Linked DNA regions of Homo sapiens: all the other regions are linked to region 6. The links are contacts of gene promoters, found by promoter capture Hi-C in blood cells and fetal thymus (Javierre and others, 2016). All regions are on one chromosome and are shown on one strand. Each heading gives the region's core, a stretch centred on a gene start or on the middle of the fragment in contact. The rest is flanking DNA. Distances are from core to core; before and after follow the strand shown.

Region 1 (2,700 bases), core at 183-2,682, 420 kb before region 6:
GCCCAGATTCGGGCTTTCTTGTAAAAAGCGGATGGATGCTTGAAACTATTTTCTGAATCCCTTTGGCTCCCAAATGTGAATATTCTGGGAAATATTTTTATCCAAATTAGCTGAGTAATCGAGTAGTTAGGCACATTTTGAAGACTGAGGCTTGTCCTTTAAAAGAAGGGCAGCCCACAAACTGACTTCCTTGAGCCAAAAATTGTTTTAAAAGGGGAAGTACAGCCCAAAACAGTGATTTTAAAATATCAACAAAAAGAGTCAAATTCTGTAAAATATTTAAAGAGATTTATTCTGAGCCAAATATGAGTGACCATGTCCTGTGACACAGCCCTCGGGAAATCCTGAGAACATGTGCCCAAGGTGGTCAGGGTACAGCTTGGTTTTCTACATTTTAGGGAGACATGAGGCTTCAATCAAATACATTTAAGAAATACATTGGTTCAGTCCAGAAAGGCAGGACAACCCGACGCGAGGCAGGGAGCTTCCAGGTTATAGGTACGTTTTAAATTTTTCTGGTTGACAATTGGTTGAGTTTATCTAAAGACCTGGGATCAATAGAAAGGAAATGTCTGGGTTGCAATAAGAGTTGTGGAGACTGAAGTTTTATTATGCAGATGAAGCCTCCAAGTAGCAGGCTTCAGAGAGAATAGATTGTAAATGTACTTAAGGTCTGCGTTGATGTGAATGCCGGCTTGAGGTATAATGAGGCATATCTGACCCCCACTTCCCCTCATGGCCTGAAACAATCTCTCAAGTTAAATTTTAAAAGCGCCCTGGCCAAGGAGAAAGTCCATTCAGATGGTTAGAGGCCTTAGAACATTATTTTTGGTTTACAAAAACGTTGAGTTGTGAACACTGAGAGCCTCTGCCCAGAATGTAAAAGAGAGAATTCTTGCTGACTGTGGCCGGGCATGCATGTCCTTTCACTTCCTTTTTTTTTTTTTAAAAAAAAAAAAAAAAAAAAAAAAAACAGGGTTTGGGCGGGGGAAGTAAGGGGGATGTGTTATGATAAAGGGGCCTTGGCAGCACTCTTCTGGTGTGGTTTGACCAGGCTCCACCCACGAATTCTGTTTTCTTTTAGAGGTCACTGGAGAGCCCGGTGGGGTGTAAGTACACTGCGCTTATAAAACTCTAGCAGGAAGCTAGCAGCTGTCTCCAAACCCAGAGAAGGGGAAACAGGAATCGATTAGGAATAAAGGATTATAATCCACTTTCCTTCTGAGGAAAAGCTGGGAACCTTCTCATTTTGCCTTATGAAAACTAAGCTGAATCGACTGCTGCCAAACATCTATTAGGCAAAATTGGCCTCTTGCCCATGATTTGACTTTCCAGCACAGCCAGTTCTTTTTCTCCTCTGCAGCTGATTGGCTCTGGAGTGTGGCCAGAAGCCTCTCTCCTGCAATTAAAGGAGTCGGGTCTCTAACTGTTGATCTGTTTTTTTCCCTTCTGAGCAATGGAGCTTACCATCTTTATCCTGAGACTGGCCATTTACATCCTGACATTTCCCTTGTACCTGCTGAACTTTCTGGGCTTGTGGAGCTGGATATGCAAAAAATGGTTCCCCTACTTCTTGGTGAGGTTCACTGTGATATACAACGAACAGATGGCAAGCAAGAAGCGGGAGCTCTTCAGTAACCTGCAGGAGTTTGCGGGCCCCTCCGGGAAACTCTCCCTGCTGGAAGTGGGCTGTGGCACGGGGGCCAACTTCAAGTTCTACCCACCTGGGTGCAGGGTGACCTGTATTGACCCCAACCCCAACTTTGAGAAGTTTTTGATCAAGAGCATTGCAGAGAACCGACACCTGCAGTTTGAGCGCTTTGTGGTAGCTGCCGGGGAGAACATGCACCAGGTGGCTGATGGCTCTGTGGATGTGGTGGTCTGCACCCTGGTGCTGTGCTCTGTGAAGAACCAGGAGCGGATTCTCCGCGAGGTGTGCAGAGTGCTGAGACCGGTGAGTGAAAGGGTGTGAGGAGGACTAGTTAGTAGCAGCTATTATCATAGAGGGCAGGCCTGTCAATTTCAGGTGGCTGAAACATTTTAACATAAAAAGTAAACTACTAGAAAATACTGTAGAATTTTTTAAAATTTTAGCGTGGGAGAGAAGCTATAAAGAGAAAGATTGATAAATCTGAATATAAAAACTTAAAACTGCTATAAAGAAAAAACCTCCTGGCCGGGCACAGTGGTTCACGTCTGTAATCCCAGCATTTTGGGAGGCCAAGGCAGGCAGATCGCTTGAGGTCAGGAGTTCGAGACCAGACTGACCAATATGGTGAAACCCCATCTCTATTAAAAATACAAAAATTAGCCAGGCATGGTGGCAGGTGCCTGTAGGCAGGAGAATCGCTTGAACCTGGTGGGGCAGAGGTTAAAGTGAGCCAAGATTGCACCACAGCACTCCAGCCTAGGCAACAGAGTGAAACTCCATCTCAAAAAAAAAAAAAAAAAAAAAAAGAAAGAAAGAAAAAAAAGAATAAGAAAAAAAAACTCCCCAAAACAAAGTTAAACTACAAAACAAGCTTGGAAAAAATATTTGCCAGGGATGATAGACAAAGGGTTAACTTCCCTCATGTTAAAAGACATTACATGTCAATAAGATCAATATTTTTCAATAAGAAAAACAAAAGGGAAAATGGGCAAATAACAGGAACAGAAATGTAAACCAATTATAGGACAAAAGTGCTCAAACTTAAAGAG
Region 2 (2,743 bases), core at 2-2,501, 510 kb before region 6:
GCTCCCTCAAGCCTTTGGGGGTAGGTTTGCATAGACCTGCTCACCATGGAACAGGAACAGGATTATTATCCGGACCTATAAAAATCTCTTATGATTCAATATGTGAATCTCATGATGGCAAGGACTTTTGTTTTGTGTTCTGTTATAGCCTAAGCTCTTACAACAGGGTCTGGCATGGAGAAGGCAGTCAATGAAATCAACATGCAAAGACAAAGATGAGCAAATAAATGACATAAATTGGTACTCAACATGAAATAGTCAATGAATGTTCCCTAAAATATGAAAAGATATTCAAATACTCAAACTCATTCAAAATCAGAAAAACGCAAACTAAAACCACAATTCCCAACTCCTGCCCACAAGATAGGTAAAAAATTAAAAAGCATTTGTTACAACCTGGCAGAACCTATAGAAAAAGCGAAAGAAAAGAAAAACAATGCCTAAAGGCCAGGCGTGGTGGCTCATATCTGTAATCCCAGCACTTTGGGAGGCCGAGGCGGGTGGATCATTTGAGGTCAGGAGTTCAAGACCAGCCTGGCCAACATGGTGAAACCCCATCTCTATTAAAAACACAAAAATTAGCCAGGTGTGGTGGTGGGCGGCTGTGATCCCACCTACTCGGGAGGCTGAGGCAGGAGAATCACTTGAACCTGGGAGATGAAGGCTGCAGTGAGCCGAGATTGCACCACTGCACTCCAGCCTGGGTGACAGAGTGAGACTCCGTCACACACACACACAAAGAAAAAGCATCGGTGAAGACATGAGCAATGGGAACATTTATATGTTGCTAGTTGATGAGTATGTATATGTGTATATATATGTGTGTATACGTATATATGGGTGTGTGTATATATCTGTATATATATAATAATTATTATTTTTAGGGACAGGGTCTCACTCTATCACCTAGGCTGGAGTACAGTGGCATGATCATGGTTCACTGCAGCCTTGAGCTCCTCCTAGGCTCAAGTGATCCTCCCACCTCAGTTTCCCAAGCGGCTGTGATTACAGGCATGTGTCACCATGCCCAGCTAATTTTTTAAATTTTTTGTAGAGATGAGGTCTTGCTATGTTGCCCAGGCTGGTCTTGAACTCCTGGCTTCATGCAATCCTCCCACCTCAGCCTCCCAAAGTGCTGGGATTACAGGTGTGAGCCACCATGCCTGGCTTGAAGAGAATATTGGTGAAACATTCTGGAAAACAATTTGGCATTATTTGGAGAAGATGATGGTATTCTTTATGACTCAGTAATCCTACCACTAGTATGTAGTCCAGAGAGACTCATCTCATATGCATAGTAGTATTAGTTGTAATAGAAAAAACCTGGAAATAATGCAAATATCCATCAATAATAGATTCCAAAGTAGATAAATACATTGTGGCATATGCATATGATGTGTGGGAGAGAGTAAATGAATTGCAGTTAGATAACCACAGAAATGAATGTAAAGAACCTAATGCTGAGTAAAAAAACAAAAACTAGCTGCAAAAGAAAATTTATCATATGATTCCATTTATATAAAGCTCATGTAATGATTAATCTTATGTGTCAACCTAATGGGGCTAAGGGATATCCAGATGGCTGGTAATCACAACTTCTGGGAGTATCTGTGAGGGTGTTTCCGTAAGAGATGTGCATTGGAATCAGGAGAATGAGCAAAGAAGATTGTTCTCGCCACTGTAGGTGGGCATCATCTAATCTGTTGATGTCCCCAGCAGAACAAAAAGGTGAAAGAAGAACAAATTATTTCTCTTGAGCTGGGACATCTTCTCTTGTCCTCAGACATCAACACTCCTGGGTCTCAGGCCTTCAGACTCAGACTGAATCACACTGCCAGCTTTTCCTGTTTCTCCAGCTTGCAGATGGCAGACTGTGGGATTTCTCAGCCTCCGTAATTATGTGAGCCAATCCCTAAAATCTCTCTTTCTCTTTTTTTTTCCTCACTCTCCTGTTGGTTCTGTTTCTCTGGAGAACCCTGAGTAATAAAGTTCAAAAACATGCAAAACTAAAAAATATATTGTTTAAAGCAGTGCTGTATAATAGAACTCTTCACAACGGTGGAAATATTCTACAACTATGCTGCCCAGTATGGTAACAAGTGTCATGTGGCTACTGAGCACTTAAAATATGGCTAATGTGACTGAGGAACTGAATTTTTATTTAATTTAAATTTGAACTTAAATTGTCACATGTGGTGAGGGGCTACCATACTGTACGGCAAGGTTTATAACGAGAATAAATGAAATAAATACAAAATCCAGAATATTGGTTACTTCTGAGAGAAAAATAAAGACAGAATGAGGGAGAGATACACAGGGGATTTCAAAAGCAAAAATAATCTTCTTTTTCTTAAATGGGTATTCTTCTACTGTTATTCTTTAAACTGAGCATATATTTTATAAATATCCTTTTATATGTATTAAATATTCAGTAAAACAAATGTAGTGAATGGGGTGGTGTATACATGGATGTTTGTACTGTTATTAAATTCTGTGTAATCAAATAGTTTTATTTTCATAATTGCTAGCACTGAGACATGCCCCAGGTGGGAGGATAAAGCCTCCCCAAAGCCCAGGCCCCAAGCCCTGGTACTAATGCTCTTGTCCTCCATAACCATGGATCTTAAGCTTTCACTTGGAAAGGAGAGGTAGGATGTTTTGTTTTGAGGCTCACTTAATTTTCTCTAAAAAATTTTAATGGGGTCAAGGCGCAGTGACTCATGCCTGTAATCCCCGCATTTTG
Region 3 (2,797 bases), core at 48-2,547, 390 kb before region 6:
CCTACCAACCCAGGAAAGGGACATTTCCCAACTTTGTGTTCCGTGATGACAGACTCTATTTAGAAATTGGGCATGGTGGGAATATTTACAACACAGAATGGGGCAATGGCAAATGCCACAGAACAGGGCAATATCTCCCCCTCCAGAGCCAGTTGAGTTGTTAAACATTTGTCAGCACCACACTGGATCAAAGTTAACTACCACCAGGCAATTCAACTTTCTGTGTCTCCTGATATTTCACACTAAGAAGAGCACAACATCATTTTTGTCATATTCTGCCCAAAATGTATGACCTCAATCTAGTGAGAAAACATGAGTTGGGGGAGGGGACGGGAACACAGGATTAGATTGAGAGGCATCCTACAAAATAACTGGCAAAACATCAAGGTCGGCTGGGCGCGGTGGCTCACACCTGTAATTTCAGCACTTTTGGGAGGCCAAGGTGGGTGGATCACCTGAGATCAGGGGTTTGAGACCAGCCCGACCAACATTGTGAAACAAAATCTCTACTAAAAATACAAAAAAATTAGCCGGGCGTGGTGTGGCGCTTCTATAGTCCTAGCTACTCGGGAGGCTGAGGCAGGAGAATTGCTTGAACCAAGGAGACAGAGGTTGCAGTGAGCCAAGATTGCGCCATCACACTCCAGCCAGGGTGACAAGAGCGAAACTCCATCTCAAAAAAAAAAAAAAAGAAAAAAAAATCAAGGTCAAGACAGACAAAGATGATTAGGAAGGTGTTTCAGACTAAAGGAGACTAAAGAAACAGGACAACTAAATGCAATATATGATCCTAATTGGATGCTAGACCAGAAATTTTTTTTTTTTTTTTTTTTTGCTATTAAGGACATAATTGGGACAACTGGTGAATATGAATAAAATCTTTAGATTGAAAAACAGAATTATATCAATGTTAAGTTTCTGATTTTGAACACTGTACTATGGTTATATAATAAAAGAATGCCCCAAATGCATACAAAAGTATATGGAAGAAAAGGCATAAGTCTGCTACTGTCAGGTGGTTCGCCAAAAATATTTTTTAAAGAAAGAAACATGTTAATAAAGGAAAATGCGGGTACCAGACACACAGTTCTTTGTACTATTCTGGGGACTTTTCTATAAGTCTGAAATTATTTAAACATTAAGTTACAAGGGAAAAACCATGAACGCTACCTGATCCTCTGCCCTCATCTCTAGGTCCACATGGCTGCAGTCGGAGGGAGGCGGTGAGCAAGGTGTTCTCCAAGGTCTCAAGGGGCCCCAAGGCTACAAGGTCAGAACAGAAGCAAAGGCCACGTCCACCACCGACCCACCTCAAGAGCCACAGCCTCTCGGGTCTCCACAGCCCCACTCAGGTCTCACACACAGGCGCAGGGACTAGCCACAGGTGCAGCAACGTCACGTCTTTCCCCTGGGCGCGTGTGCAGCTCGAGGCTTTGCAGGAGGCGCACCTGCGATGGCCTTACCGCCAGGTGAGCCCGGCGGGCTCTCATCGCCTCAGCCGGAGATTCCAACTGCAGGGAGCGCACCTCCTCTGGCTAGGGCGTGTTTCCGAAGGATGGCAAGAATCCTGGCCTCTGATGGCTATCTTCTCCCCTTCCCCTCCAAGCCCAGTGTTGTGACCCTGTGCCCTCTTTCCCCTCAATTTTGGGCCCAGGAGTCAGGTACTAAGACTCAACAGTCACAGAGGGAAGTCAGGAGCTCCCTTGTGAAGGCAGACTTAAGCAAATGCATCTTCTTCCAAAGCCTTCATGTTTTTCTTAATGTTGGCTTCAAAAGCCTAGTTTGTGGCCCAGGCTGCTACTGGTGAGTTTCTAGCAGGGTGCTGGAAATCTTGGCCAATACCAGCCGACCACTCCCCCAGTCCCCTGGGGCGTGTTTCTGGGCTTTCCCATTATCAATTAGTTGGAAATTGCACATCGTGTCCTGGCCTTACAACAAACACCTGTTCTGATCTACAGCCTCTTGCTGAAGGAACAACAGGAGACAGACAGCAGGTGGCGGGGTGTGCCACAGGTATTGTGCTTCTTACGCTTAAGTTTTCTGATGAAGTCTCATTCATAGGATGAAGCCGCTGTATTTGAATTCTGGGGTGAACACAATAAGCTGCACAGGGAACAGACTCAGGCGCTGCTAAATCTGTTGTGATTATAGTTGCTTTTGCAAGTTTCTTCATTCATCCTATGTAGACAAGCCAGGCTAGACAAGGAATCCATTGTCTAGCATAGCAACTGGCACACAGTAGGTGCTTGGTAAATATCTGAATGACTTTATAATGCCCTGCACATTCTGCAGAGTTGAAGTGATCATTCTCCCAATACCTGTAAATCTGGAAGTATTTTTGCCTATGTTGGCACTGCCATACTTCTTTAAAATGATACTTTAAAAAGAAAATGTGTTCTTCAAATACAGTGCTTGTGGAAGAAGTCCTGAGGTTCCCAGTGATCTCAAATGCTGAGCAGTGGAAAGGAGACTGAATAACAGCATTATGATCTGTGTTTTTACTCTGTATTCATGAAATCTGATTATCATTTCCTCTATGTATTTTTTTCTTATCCCCTTCCCCTGCAAAATGAAAAAATTCGGTAGTGAAAAGTGTGAAGGAAAGACAATTGTTTCAGTTGAGCAGATAGGCTTATCAAACAAATGAAAACAAAAAAACACATAATCAAGAGTATGATGGGAGAGGAAAAACAAATTATTTTTAATGATTCACGGCAACCACATTTATATCCTATTGTTACTAGAGAAAAAAATGTCTTCAGATAACCAGTGGTCAGCAGATGAGGATGAAGGCCAA
Region 4 (2,723 bases), core at 14-2,513, 490 kb before region 6:
GTGTTTAGATATACAAATGCTTTCTACTGTATCACAGCTGTCTACAATACTTAGTACAGCGGAACAGGTGTGTAGCCTAGAAGTAACAGGCTATACCATCTACCCTAGGTGTGCAGCAGACTATACCATCTAGGTTTATGTAAGTGCACTCTTATCATGGTTGCACAACAAAATTGCCTAACGATGTATTTCTCAGAATGTTCTCCATCATTAAGTGATGCCTGACTGTGTTTCACTCTGTGTATTTTTTTATCACTTTATGCCATGAGATTGAAAAGTATTATAGGTTCTTATAAAACACTGAAAACAACTTTTTGAGGGGTCTATTTTTCCTTGTGGGATAGGAGAGAAAATTCTTTTCCAAAGCAGAAATAGAGACTTTCTCTGATTGTACATGCCAAGATACTTGAACGTTAAGATAGAATGATAGTTCCAAGTGTTTCTGTAGTTTGAACTCACAGATGGTGAAGCCAGCTCTGCAGCAGAGTTCTCTATTTTAAGTAATAAGCTTCTGGCTATGAAGAATCATATTTAGTTTCCTTTTAATTTAATGCCTTGTTTAGTATCAGGCAAGATGATTGCGATATATTTTTTTAGTGTACTTAGGGGCAGTAAATGTTAACTGACCCAACTAATGGGAGGAATAAAAACATAGACGACACAGTCTCTTTGGTAATAAGAGCTACCACCATTTGGGAGCATTTACCATGTTTCAGGCCCTGTTTCTGTTCTTGTTGTTATTTAAAACACTTTTTTTTTAGAGATGGGGGTCTCACTCTGTCTCTCAGGCTGGAGTGCAGTGGTATAATTATAGCTCACTGCAGCCTCAAACTCCTGGGCTCAAGCAATTCTCCTGCTTCAGCCTCTCCAATAGCTGGGACTACAGGCATGTGCCACCACGCCCAGCTTTTTAAAACGTATTATGTATGTATAGATGTATGTTTTGGTTTTTTAAGAGACATGGTCTTGCTGTGTCACTCAAGCTGGAGTGCAGGGACACGATCATGGCTCACTGTAACCTTTACCTCCTGGTCTCAAGTAATCCTCCTGCCTCAGCCTCCCAAGTAGCTAGGACTACAGGCATGTGCCACCATGCCCAGCTAATTTTTTCATTTTTTTGTAGAGACAGGGTCTTGCCATGTTTCCTAGACTGGTCTTGAACTCCTAGTCTTAAGAAATCCTCCTGCTTCAGCCTCCCAAAGTGCTGAGATTACAGGTATGAGCCATTGTGCCCAGCTTTTGTTTGTTTGTTTTTAAGAGATGGTCTTGCTGTGTTGCTCAGGCTGGTCTCAAACTCCTGGCCTCAAGCAATCTAGCCGCTTCGGTCTCCTGAGTAGCTGGGTTTATAGGCATGAGCACCATGCCTGTCCTGGGTCCTGTTTTAAATATACTGCTTTATCTTATGCCCCCAATATTCCTAAAAGGGAGTTAATGTTATTTTTACCCCATTTAACAGACCAGTAATTGAGAATCTTAGAGGTTAAGAAGTTGGAACTCAAATCCAAGTCCCAAGTCTTTTATTCTAAAGCCTGAATATTTAATAACTATATTAAACTGCTCTTGAGGGAATCATTGTCCTGTTAGGAATATATGAGGTTAAGTACTAAGACTTCTTTTTTCTTCCTATTCCCCACAGGCCCTAGCCATTTAAATATTTGTGGATTATTTAGCTAGGATGTAGATAAATGTACGAAAGACCTGTGAATTATTATTTTTCTTTTTTTTTTTTCCATCTGTGAATACTTTTTAAAGAAGATAAGGAAAGCAACATGGTGTAGGGAAAGGAACATGGGCTTTAGATTCACGGACTTAATTCTGAATCCCAGCCTGCTGCTCTGTGCTAGCTGAATGACCATGGGCATGTTATTGACTCTTTAATAATAATTAGAACAATAATAGAAGCAACTACCGTTTGTTTAGGGCCCAGTACTTAATAAAATGCTAAGCATTGCAATGCATTATCTCATTTAATACCCCCAGCAACACTACAGAAAATACTATAAAATGAATGAGTAAAATAAAGCTTAAAGAGGTTAAATAAGTTGCTTAAACTAATAAAATAACTAAACGATGAAGTCAGAATTCAAGCCCAGTTCTGCCTGTTGCAAATCTCATGTATTTCCACTGTATTATTAATATATCTTTTTTTTTTTTTTGAGAGGGAGTCTTGCTCTGTCTCCAGGCTGGAGTGCAGTGGCGCAATCTCGGCTCATTGCAACCTTTGCCTCTTGGGTTCAAGTGATTCCTCTGCCTCAGCCTCCCCAGTAGCTGGGACTACGGGCACGTGCCACCACACTCGGCTAATTTTTTGTATTTTAGTAGAGACGGGGTTTCACCATGTTGGCCAGGATGGTCTTGATCTCCTGACCTCGTGATCCACCTGCCTCGGCCTCCCAAAGTGCTGGGATTACAGGCGTGAGCCAGGTGCACCCGGCCTAATATATCATCTTTCACAATGTCATACAGTTTCATGATCTTTAAAGTGAGAGCAATGATACCCATCAGAGAGTTGTTTTGAGAATTAAATTAGTTCTCCAGCAACATGGTAGTTTACATGTACATACCAAGCTCCCCACTGAAAACTATTAAAGAGGGAGAATACATAGGTTAAGGACTCGGTGTGACGATAGAAACTTAGACAGGGAACTGGAACACGGAAGTTGACTTTGATCTTGAGGGTATTCGCCAAAATGTTAACTTTTAATATTGACTTCAGTGGTTTC
Region 5 (2,720 bases), core at 210-2,709, 360 kb before region 6:
AAAAAATCTATACATGTAGGCAAGCAGTTTGTGATATGTGGACTAATATTCCAAATCTCACTCTAGTACTAATCTCATGCTACTTGGTATAAATAGGTATTTTAAAGTGAAACATTTAGCATTCCCTAGGAGATTCAACAATACAAATATTGGCCACTCCTAGAAATAGACTTTGGACCTAGAAACAGTGTTTGGTATGTTAATGGGAATAGTGGGAAGAAAATACATTGGCGGACTATACAAATATTAGAAAGAAGATAAATATCTTCACTATCTTATGTCAGGACTTACAAGCTAAATGTTAGAAGTTTCCTCTTTTTTTGCCTAAAACTTGAATGCCAGAATGAGCTGAGTTACAATGCAGCACGGAAAACTGATCACTGGTTAAAGTGTGGTTTCTGGATCTTGTTACTGGATATTAAAGCTCTTTGGCAATGCCTTCATATCTGTTTAATGACTAGAAAACAATTCAAGAAAAGTGACGACAAAGACAATAATTACAAAATAGGCTGATAACCAGAGTTAATTATGATTGCCAAACAGAAGAAATGTTTTTTTAAGAAATGATGTGTTAATATGATGTGTTAATATCAGTAGATACAAAGGATATAATCTGGTTGACTAAAATCAAACTGAAATTTCACTGACATAGTAAAGTATCACTTTACAAGATAGTCAATTTGACCAGTTCATTGTGAAAAAGAGCATTGTTCTCTTTTCTTTCTCACTTGTGATCCAGACAAAACAAATATCTGATATATCAAAACAATATTTAAAAAAAAAATACAAAAGTTCTATCAGTTTCATATAACCTTAAAACTCTACCCAAACTGAGATGCTCAGGTTTACATAAATATATATACATATATATCTTTTAAATCCCAGAGTCCAAGACACAAGCCCATAGGGGTGTGTGGCCATCAGAGGCCAATCGTTTAACTCTGGGAGTGTATGACTGTTATGAGGTGGGTGGGTCTCTGACCTACATTTATAGCTGTCAGTTTTGAACACCCTTCCCATGAGGAAATCTTTGCCTTTTGTTCAAAACGTCTGAACAAAACTCACCTCTGAACTAACAGAGACGTTAACGGGACACCTGGCACAAAAAGGGCTTAGAAAAACATGTTCTTATAGAGTCTCTCAGGCTGTCAGTCATCTAGACACAAGTGAGTCAGCGTCCATGGTGTTCAGAAGATAGAGTTCAGGCTGAGCTGTCAATCCCAGATGGCACTAAGGAAAAAAAGATGGAAGAGGGTTAGACTGATTTTCACGTATTTATTGAAATCAGCTTTTAAGTACCTATAATTAGCACATCAATTTAGGCCTTTTTTTCTGTACTGCTATATTGATTTTTATTTCAGAAAAGAAATGGCTTACAGATACATACATGAATGGCTTCTGATATGCAAAATAACAGGTAGGAGCTGAAATAGTTAAGGACTGAGATGGTACCAAATGTCCTTAGCAAAATTAGCACTCTGACTATTCTTGTGACACACTCTGCCTAAGGATGGGTGCTTCAAATCAGGATAAGAACAAACAAGCAGAATGCTTTTGTATTTTACTACTGTGTGAATTAGAAATCAAATTCCCAATGGTTTCAATCCTGAGCCCTATTATCCTTTGGCACTGGAGCAGAGAAAAGCCTTTCATTTAAAAAACAAAAACATGAAATGGCATGTACCAAGAGGGAGAAAGATGACCTGTGGGTCCCAAATGTTTGTCAGCCTGCATCAGAATCACCGAAGCTGCTTTTAAAACACAATTCCCAGCTGGGTGCGGTGGCTCACGCCTGTAAACCCAGCACTTTGGGAGGCCAAGGTGGGCGGATCATGAGGTCAGGAGATCGAGACCATCCTGGCCAACATGATGAAACTCCGTCTCTACTAAAAATACAAAAAAAATTAGCTGGGTGTGGTGGCACACACCTGTAATCCCAGCTAATCGGGAGGCTGAGGCAGGAGAATCACTTGAACCCAGGAGGCAGAGATTGCAGTGAGCCGAGATTGCACCACTGCACTCCAGCCTGGCGACAGAGTCAGACTCCGTCTCAAAAAACAAAACAGCAAACAAACAAAAAACAATTCCGACTGGGCACGGTGTCTCATGCCTGTAATCCCAGCACTGTGGGAGGCCGAGGCGCATGGATCACCTCAGGTCAGAAGTTCAAGACCAGCCTGACCAACATGGCGAAACCCCTCGACTAAAAATACAAAAATTAGCGGGGCATGGTGGCGCATGCCTGTAATCCCAGCTACTCACGAGGCTGAGGCAGGAGAAACACTTGAATCCAGGAGGCAGAGGCTGCAGTGAGCTGAGATCATGCCACTGCACTCCGGCCTGGGCAACACAGCGAGACTCCGTCAAAAAAAAAAAAAAAAAAACCCACAATTCCAGACTCCACTCCTAAAGAACTGAGTCTAGATGGTTTGTGTTGGGACCTGTGAAGTTGTTATTTTTTTTGTAGAGACAAGGCCTCACTATGTCACTCACGCTGGAGTGCCAATGACACAATCTTGGCTCACTGCCACCTCTACCTCCTGGGCTTCAGCCATCCTCCCATCTCAGCCTCCCAAGTAGCTAGGACTATAGGCGTGTGCCACCACACTCAGCTAATTTTTTTGTAGACAGGGTTTTGCCATGTTTCCTAGGCTGGCTATGAAGTTATTTCTTTTTACTTTTTCTCTTCTCGAATACACCTTGAGACAAGTTTGAGTCTC
Region 6 (2,769 bases), core at 121-2,620:
CATATTTAGATCACTTAAATCAGGGCCCAGCTGCCCTGTTAGCAAAGTGGAAACTCTAAATAGCCAACTAAGCAGCATGCTGTACGTGTGTGTGTGTGTGTGTGCGCGCACATGCGTGCAAGCATTGTGACACACACAGTGTGGAGTGGTGTGCGTGTGAGTTTCAAGGTATGTGGAGTCCAAGGTGACTGTCTGGCACCCAGTCTTTCTTGCGTGGCACAAGTGCTGTCGCTGAGAATATAAATGTATCTTGTGTTTGGGTGTGTGCCTTGAAGAGGGACTGTGGTTGGTGTATAAATCCCCTCCTCCAAGCCTTTTGCATTTAGAAAACCACCTAAGCCTGATCCCATCCATCTTTAAAATCGAGAACCTAGACAATTGGAGAGCTGCTTGTTGATAGGGACATGCACAAATACACATGATACCTTATGTCATGCACTGAGCTCTTATTTGGGTGGAAGTCTGGGGCTGGGAAGGAACACCCACCTGAGAGGGCCAGGAATTCCTCCCGGCCTCAGTCCCTCCGACTACGCGGGCATTGGTTTCCGGAAGGTCCTGGGTGCTGTGTCCTTTGTGGGGCAGAAGAAAAGTGAGTGATGACTAAGCATGGGGTCAGCCAGGGGTAGGGGTGGGGGGTGGCGATTGTGCTTTGAGGAATGTTAGCCTTGTCTGCAAATTCACAGTTCCTCTCTAACGAATGAGGGGCCCAGCTGTGAGTTCTCTGAGCCCCTTTTGAAAACAGGGGTGCCTGGGTGCCTTCTGTTTCCCCCAGGTGTTCCCAGAACTCCGGCATGCTATGAAGGACCTCTCTCAAACCACCAGGCTAGGCCCCAGAGGCTCCTTGTGGTCTCCTCTTTGCTCAAGATCACCCTTTGGCCTGAAGAGACCCCCCCCCACTCTTTGACCCCCACCAGCCCCCTAATGCTTTGGCAAGATTCTCCAGGGTTCAGGGCCTGCAGTGCACACCCCAGCCAGGCACCTGCTGAGGAAGTCCTCCTGTCAATGGGGGTGGTGGGGAAGCCCAGGGACCCACCCCACTACCAGATGGGGCTTCTCTCTGCTTTGTGGCCCAGGGACCTGCCACCCAGAGGGGCCTGAATAGCCAGTGGCCCTGACCTTTTCTATCTTGGCCTCCAGGAGAGTAAAGGACGCTCTGCAGGCAGAGCGTCCCACCTGCCCTGGGACAGGGTGCTGGCCTGGACTTAGGGAAAATTTGCTGACCTTCCTGCCCAAGTCCCCCTCCCTATAGACCTCAGGCCACATGATCCACTTACCATAAAGGACCAGGGTTGCGACTGGACCATATCCACTTACCATAAAGGACCAGCATGTTGCCGATGGAGTAGACCACTGCCTTCTTGCTTGGACCAAGCCCTCTTTATACTCCTCTTAGCAGCAAAGCTGACTGTCTTCTTGCCAACTGGCAGGGCTGAGGGTGCAAGGCAGGGAAAATCACAAGTGACATGGAAATACAAATGAAAATATTTCTTTTCAAGTAAACTAATGTATCTGTTATTCAAAGACAGAACAAGGCCAGGGCTGAATTAATCATCTGCTTTTAATTGAAAAGCATCCAACAAACTCTTTTTCAGAAATAAGATGGAGAACCAGGGCTGGTTTTTCTCTAAGGGAGCACCCCTTGTCATCCATCACTCTCTCGTTGTCCTCAGTGGCACCATAAATGCAGAGACTTGCCCTGTGCACTAGCAGCTGGAGGCCAGGGGGATAGTGGAAGAGGGGGGAGTGGTTAGCAAGGGCAAGGAAGACACAGCAACTCTCTCTGCCCAAAGAGGGAGATGGCACATGCCCCCAGGATGCAGGCATAGGTGTAAATGCAGACACAAAAGCCAAATAGATGCAGTGGAGATAATTCTGGGGGAGGAAAGTACTGAGAAACAGGCTTGGGCCCTCTCAGATGGAGAGCCAAGAAGGGGCTCCCAGAGGAGAATATGAGGCAGGGTAGAGGAGGGGATCCTTGGGATGTGAAGACAGTCTGAGGGCTATGAGGGTAGATGGAGGGTGGAGGGCAGAGGGAGAACGAGGGTAGGAGCCGAGGTTCCTGCAGGAGATGAAAGGCTTTGTTCATCACAGTTCGTAGAGGAGAGAGAAGGGAGTTGCGGCCGGGCGCGGTGGTTTACGCCTGTAATCCCAGCACTTTGGGAGGCTGAGGCGGGCGGATCACAAGATCAAGAGATCGAGACCATCCTGGCCAACATGGCGAAACCCCGTCTACTAAAAATACAAAAATTGGCCGGGCGCGGTGGCTCATGCCTGTAATCCCAGCACTTTGGGAGTCGGAGGCGGGCGGATCACGAGGTCAGGAGATTGAGACTACTCTGGCTAACACAGTGAAACCCCGTCTCTACTAAAAAAATACAAAAAATTAGCTGGGCGTGGTGGCAGGCGCCTGTAGTCCCAGCTCCTCGGGAGGCGCAGGCAGGAGAATGGCGTGAGCCCGGGAGGCGGAGCTTGCAGTGAGCCGAGATCGCGCCACTGCACTCCAACCTGGGCGACAGAGCGAGACTCCATCTAAAAAAAAACAAAAACAAAATACAAAAATTAGCTGGGCATGGTGGTGCGCTTCTGCAGTCCCAGCTAATCTGGAGGCTGAGGCAGGAGAATCGCTTCAACCTGGGAAGCGGAGGTTGCTGCACTCCAGCCTGGAGACAGAGCAAGACTCTGTCTCAAAATAAATAAATAAATAAATAAATAAATAAATAAATAAATAAATAAATAGAGAGAGAAAAGAGTTGCAATGTGCCTTGAGGT
Region 7 (2,707 bases), core at 139-2,638, 320 kb before region 6:
TCTGACACCTCTATCATGGAACACAATGCCAAGCTCTGTGAACAATTTCAAAGACCCCTTTCTATTGGAATAAGAAAATTCCCTATTAGACTGGCCATGGTGGCTCACATCTGTAATCCCTTAGCACTTTGGGAGGCTGAGGCGGGAGGATTGCGTGAGCCCAAAAGCTTGAGACCAGCCTGGGCAACATAGCAAGAAACCCAGTCTCCATTAAAAAAAAAAAAAAATTACTTTTTTCCAAAAAAAAAAAAAAAAAAATCCCCTATTAAACCAGCCTATACCTACTTCTTGCCTCAGAAAATATGTTTTGTCCTCACACTTAAGTAGCTTTTCTCTGGCAAATATGAAGAATTTTCATTAGATTACATTCAACCCATTTTTCCTAATGATGGATATTGGCTCCCAAATGATGTAGATTGACCTTAACAACTTTAAGTAAATATTGTCCTCCAAGTTTCTTTTCCTAAAAGCAAAGAAAAATTAAGACAATATATACTACAAGATTCTCCAGCCTTTAACAAGCCTCTTTCTGCTCTTTGAAACCTGGTAAAGTTTTAATAATTAACTTGTAGCTTTCTTCTTTCATTTCCTAGGAGTTTTAACAGCTATCAGCTTAGTAGAGATGAGACCAAAACAAACACAAACCTGACACAAAATGACTTATCGGCAATAAGCACCAAAACAAGACTAAAAACCCTAATTTGTTCCTTATGCCAAAAAATATAAATTACTTTAACCTGAAATTAAAAGTGGAAGAGAAGTTAGGCCATTTTGATCATTGCTGGCCAATTGTTTTATATTCCATTATGATTTCATTAAAATATACCTTATTATATACATGTCATTTTATTGTATCTAGAATATTCCTGATGATGCCTTGAAGGCTCTTCTTTGTGTCTCAAGGGGCCAATTAATGTAAATTGCTCCATAAATATTTGTTAAATTATAAAAAGAATAAATGGCAAGGCTGGGCGCAGTGGCTCATGCCTGTAATCCCAGCACTTTGGGAGGCCAAGGCAGGAAGATTGCTTGAACCTAGGAGTTCAAGACCAGCCTGGGCAATATAGTGAGAACTCAACTCTACAAAAAAATTAAAAATTAGCTGAGCATGGTGGCGCAAGCCTGTAGTCCCAGCAACTCAGGAGGCTCTAGTGGGAGGATCGCTTAAGCCTGGAATGTGGAGGTTGCAGTGAACCAAGACTGAACCACTGCACTCCAGCCTGGGCAAGAGAGCGAGACCCTGTCTCAAAAATATAAAAATAAAGAATAAATGGCAGCAAGTAAGTGAGACATGGTCTGCATCTTCTAATTCATTATATTCCGCTCATTCAAATGCCCCTACCTTTTTTCCCAGAATGTTTTACTCAAACTACAGAGCCTCAGAGAGATGATAATAATGACAATATTAGGGCAGCAGACTTCCCTTTCTGCCTCAAACACACTCAGTTCTTTAAAGGTGTCATTCCCATGCCTCTCAGGGAAAAACAGATTACAAAGACATTGTCCTTCACTCTTACCAGGCCAACTTCCAACTTTAAATCCTAAAGAAGTATTAAACTGGTTGGGCACGGTGGCTGGCACCCAGGGGCTCAAGACAACCTGGGCAACCTAGTAAGACTCCATCTCCACAAAAAAATTTTTAAAAATTAGGGGTGGTGGCATGCACTTGTACTCCCAGCTACTAGGGAGGCTGTGGCAGGAGAATCACTTGAGCCTGGGAGGTCAACCCTGCAGTGAGCTGTGATCATGCCACTGCACTCCAACCTGGGTTACAGAGCCAGACCTTGTCTTGTGGGGGGTGGGAGGGGAAGTCTTGAACTCTCTTATTCCAAAACTAAACAACTAAACTTATACCAACTGCACTTCAACTAAATTTGGCCAGCATGCAGCTGAAGTAAGCAATGTTTTTTTTCATAAACTTAAAGTTTCTCATTTTCTGACTAGTTCCTAATAATGCTATGTGTATAAATAGCCGCTTCTTTGAAGGGAAGAATTAGAAGACAAAGCAGTCTTCCACTGGTGTATCCCAGATAGCACCACGAGAATATGAGAAGGCTTTTTAAGGCCATAGGAAGGGCAGATATCTGTCAGCAGACATTTGTACGTATGTGCATGGTGAGGAGGCAGAGAATAAAGATGTCTTTGATTCAACAACACTCACCCAAATTCTTAGCAATGAAAGTCAAACAAGAAAGATCTGGCAGGGCGCGGTGGCTCACACCACCCCAGCACTTCGGAAGGCCGATACAGGTGGATCACTTGAGGTCAGGAGTTCCAGACCAGCCTGGCCAACATGGTGAAACCCCGTCACTACTAAAAATACAAAAAAAATTCGCCAGGCATCAAGAGGCTGAGGCAGGAGAATCGCTTGAACCCGGGAGGCAGAGGTTGCAGTGAGCCGAGATCGCGCTATTACATTCCAGCCTGGGCAACAAGAGCGAAACTCCGTATCAAAAAACGAAAGAAAGAAAGAAAAAGATCCTACTTTGTAGATATAATTCTCTAACCTTCACTGAGTCATAACTGAACCAAAGCTGCCTACTAGCTTTGTAGAGTAATCCAAGGGACCACTGCTGATTTCCTAACATTAGAGTAAGATTAGATTCATAAGAAGCTTCCCCATTCCTTAACAAGAAGTGCTGCCAGGCTACCCAGAAATTCCCCTCCCGAGTCCCACTGCCATTCCGGAAACATGAGAAACCAAGTA

What was found. The method cuts DNA at HindIII sites, captures the fragments that hold promoters and counts their contacts. A CHiCAGO score of 5 or more calls a contact.
Region 1: the fragment with the promoter of TMT1A here is called in contact with the fragment with the promoter of CELA1 in region 6 in 12 of 17 cell types (fetal thymus, endothelial precursors, M0 macrophages and 9 more); the score reaches 9.7 in fetal thymus.
Region 2: a fragment that was not itself captured here is called in contact with the fragment with the promoter of CELA1 in region 6 in 4 of 17 cell types (endothelial precursors, activated CD4 T cells, naive CD4 T cells and 1 more); the score reaches 8.6 in endothelial precursors.
Region 3: the fragment with the promoter of HIGD1C here is called in contact with the fragment with the promoter of CELA1 in region 6 in 6 of 17 cell types (total B cells, fetal thymus, erythroblasts and 3 more); the score reaches 8.2 in total B cells.
Region 4: a contact is called between a fragment that was not itself captured here and the fragment with the promoter of CELA1 in region 6, in 1 of 17 cell types (endothelial precursors). The highest score is 5.2, in endothelial precursors.
Region 5: a fragment that was not itself captured here is called in contact with the fragment with the promoter of CELA1 in region 6 in 1 of 17 cell types (erythroblasts); the score reaches 5.7 in erythroblasts.
Region 7: a fragment that was not itself captured here is called in contact with the fragment with the promoter of CELA1 in region 6 in 3 of 17 cell types (megakaryocytes, endothelial precursors and naive B cells); the score reaches 5.9 in megakaryocytes.

What each region holds. Positions count from the first base shown.
Region 1 is chr12:50,923,583-50,926,282 of GRCh38, forward strand. TMT1A (thiol methyltransferase 1A) reads left to right here and starts at 1,433. Exons shown (of 2, transcript NM_014033.4): 1 at 1,433-1,954. The coding sequence starts at 1,457. RefSeq lists enhancers at 547-756, 1,770-2,313. The HindIII fragment of the contact is 3,129 bases long and covers 1-2,520 here.
Region 2 is chr12:50,837,393-50,840,135 of GRCh38, forward strand. No RefSeq gene overlaps it. Among named protein-coding and RNA genes, the nearest start is that of TMPRSS12, 4.2 kb to the right of the region's middle. The HindIII fragment of the contact is 2,750 bases long and covers 1-2,626 here.
Region 3 is chr12:50,951,247-50,954,043 of GRCh38, forward strand. It overlaps HIGD1C (HIG1 hypoxia inducible domain family member 1C), which reads left to right and starts at 1,298. Exons shown (of 5, transcript NM_001109619.4): 1 at 1,298-1,469; 2 at 1,959-2,013; 3 at 2,745-2,797. The coding sequence starts at 2,753. It also overlaps a transcript of SLC11A2 not described here. RefSeq lists an enhancer at 1,380-1,880. The HindIII fragment of the contact is 11,450 bases long and covers 1-2,797 here.
Region 4 is chr12:50,859,673-50,862,395 of GRCh38, forward strand. All of the region lies in intron 3 of TMPRSS12 (transmembrane serine protease 12), which reads left to right. Among named protein-coding and RNA genes, the nearest start is that of TMPRSS12, 18 kb to the left of the region's middle. The HindIII fragment of the contact is 1,515 bases long and covers 507-2,021 here.
Region 5 is chr12:50,980,574-50,983,293 of GRCh38, forward strand. It overlaps a transcript of SLC11A2 not described here. Among named protein-coding and RNA genes, the nearest start is that of HIGD1C, 29 kb to the left of the region's middle. RefSeq lists a silencer at 1,120-1,320. The HindIII fragment of the contact is 5,684 bases long and covers 1-2,720 here.
Region 6 is chr12:51,345,309-51,348,077 of GRCh38, forward strand. CELA1 (chymotrypsin like elastase 1) reads right to left here and starts at 1,371. Exons shown (of 8, transcript NM_001971.6): 1 at 1,315-1,371; 2 at 487-569. The coding sequence starts at 1,330. The HindIII fragment of the contact is 4,543 bases long and covers 1-2,769 here.
Region 7 is chr12:51,022,200-51,024,906 of GRCh38, forward strand. All of the region lies in intron 1 of SLC11A2 (solute carrier family 11 member 2), which reads right to left. Among named protein-coding and RNA genes, the nearest start is that of SLC11A2, 2.8 kb to the right of the region's middle. The HindIII fragment of the contact is 2,447 bases long and covers 166-2,612 here.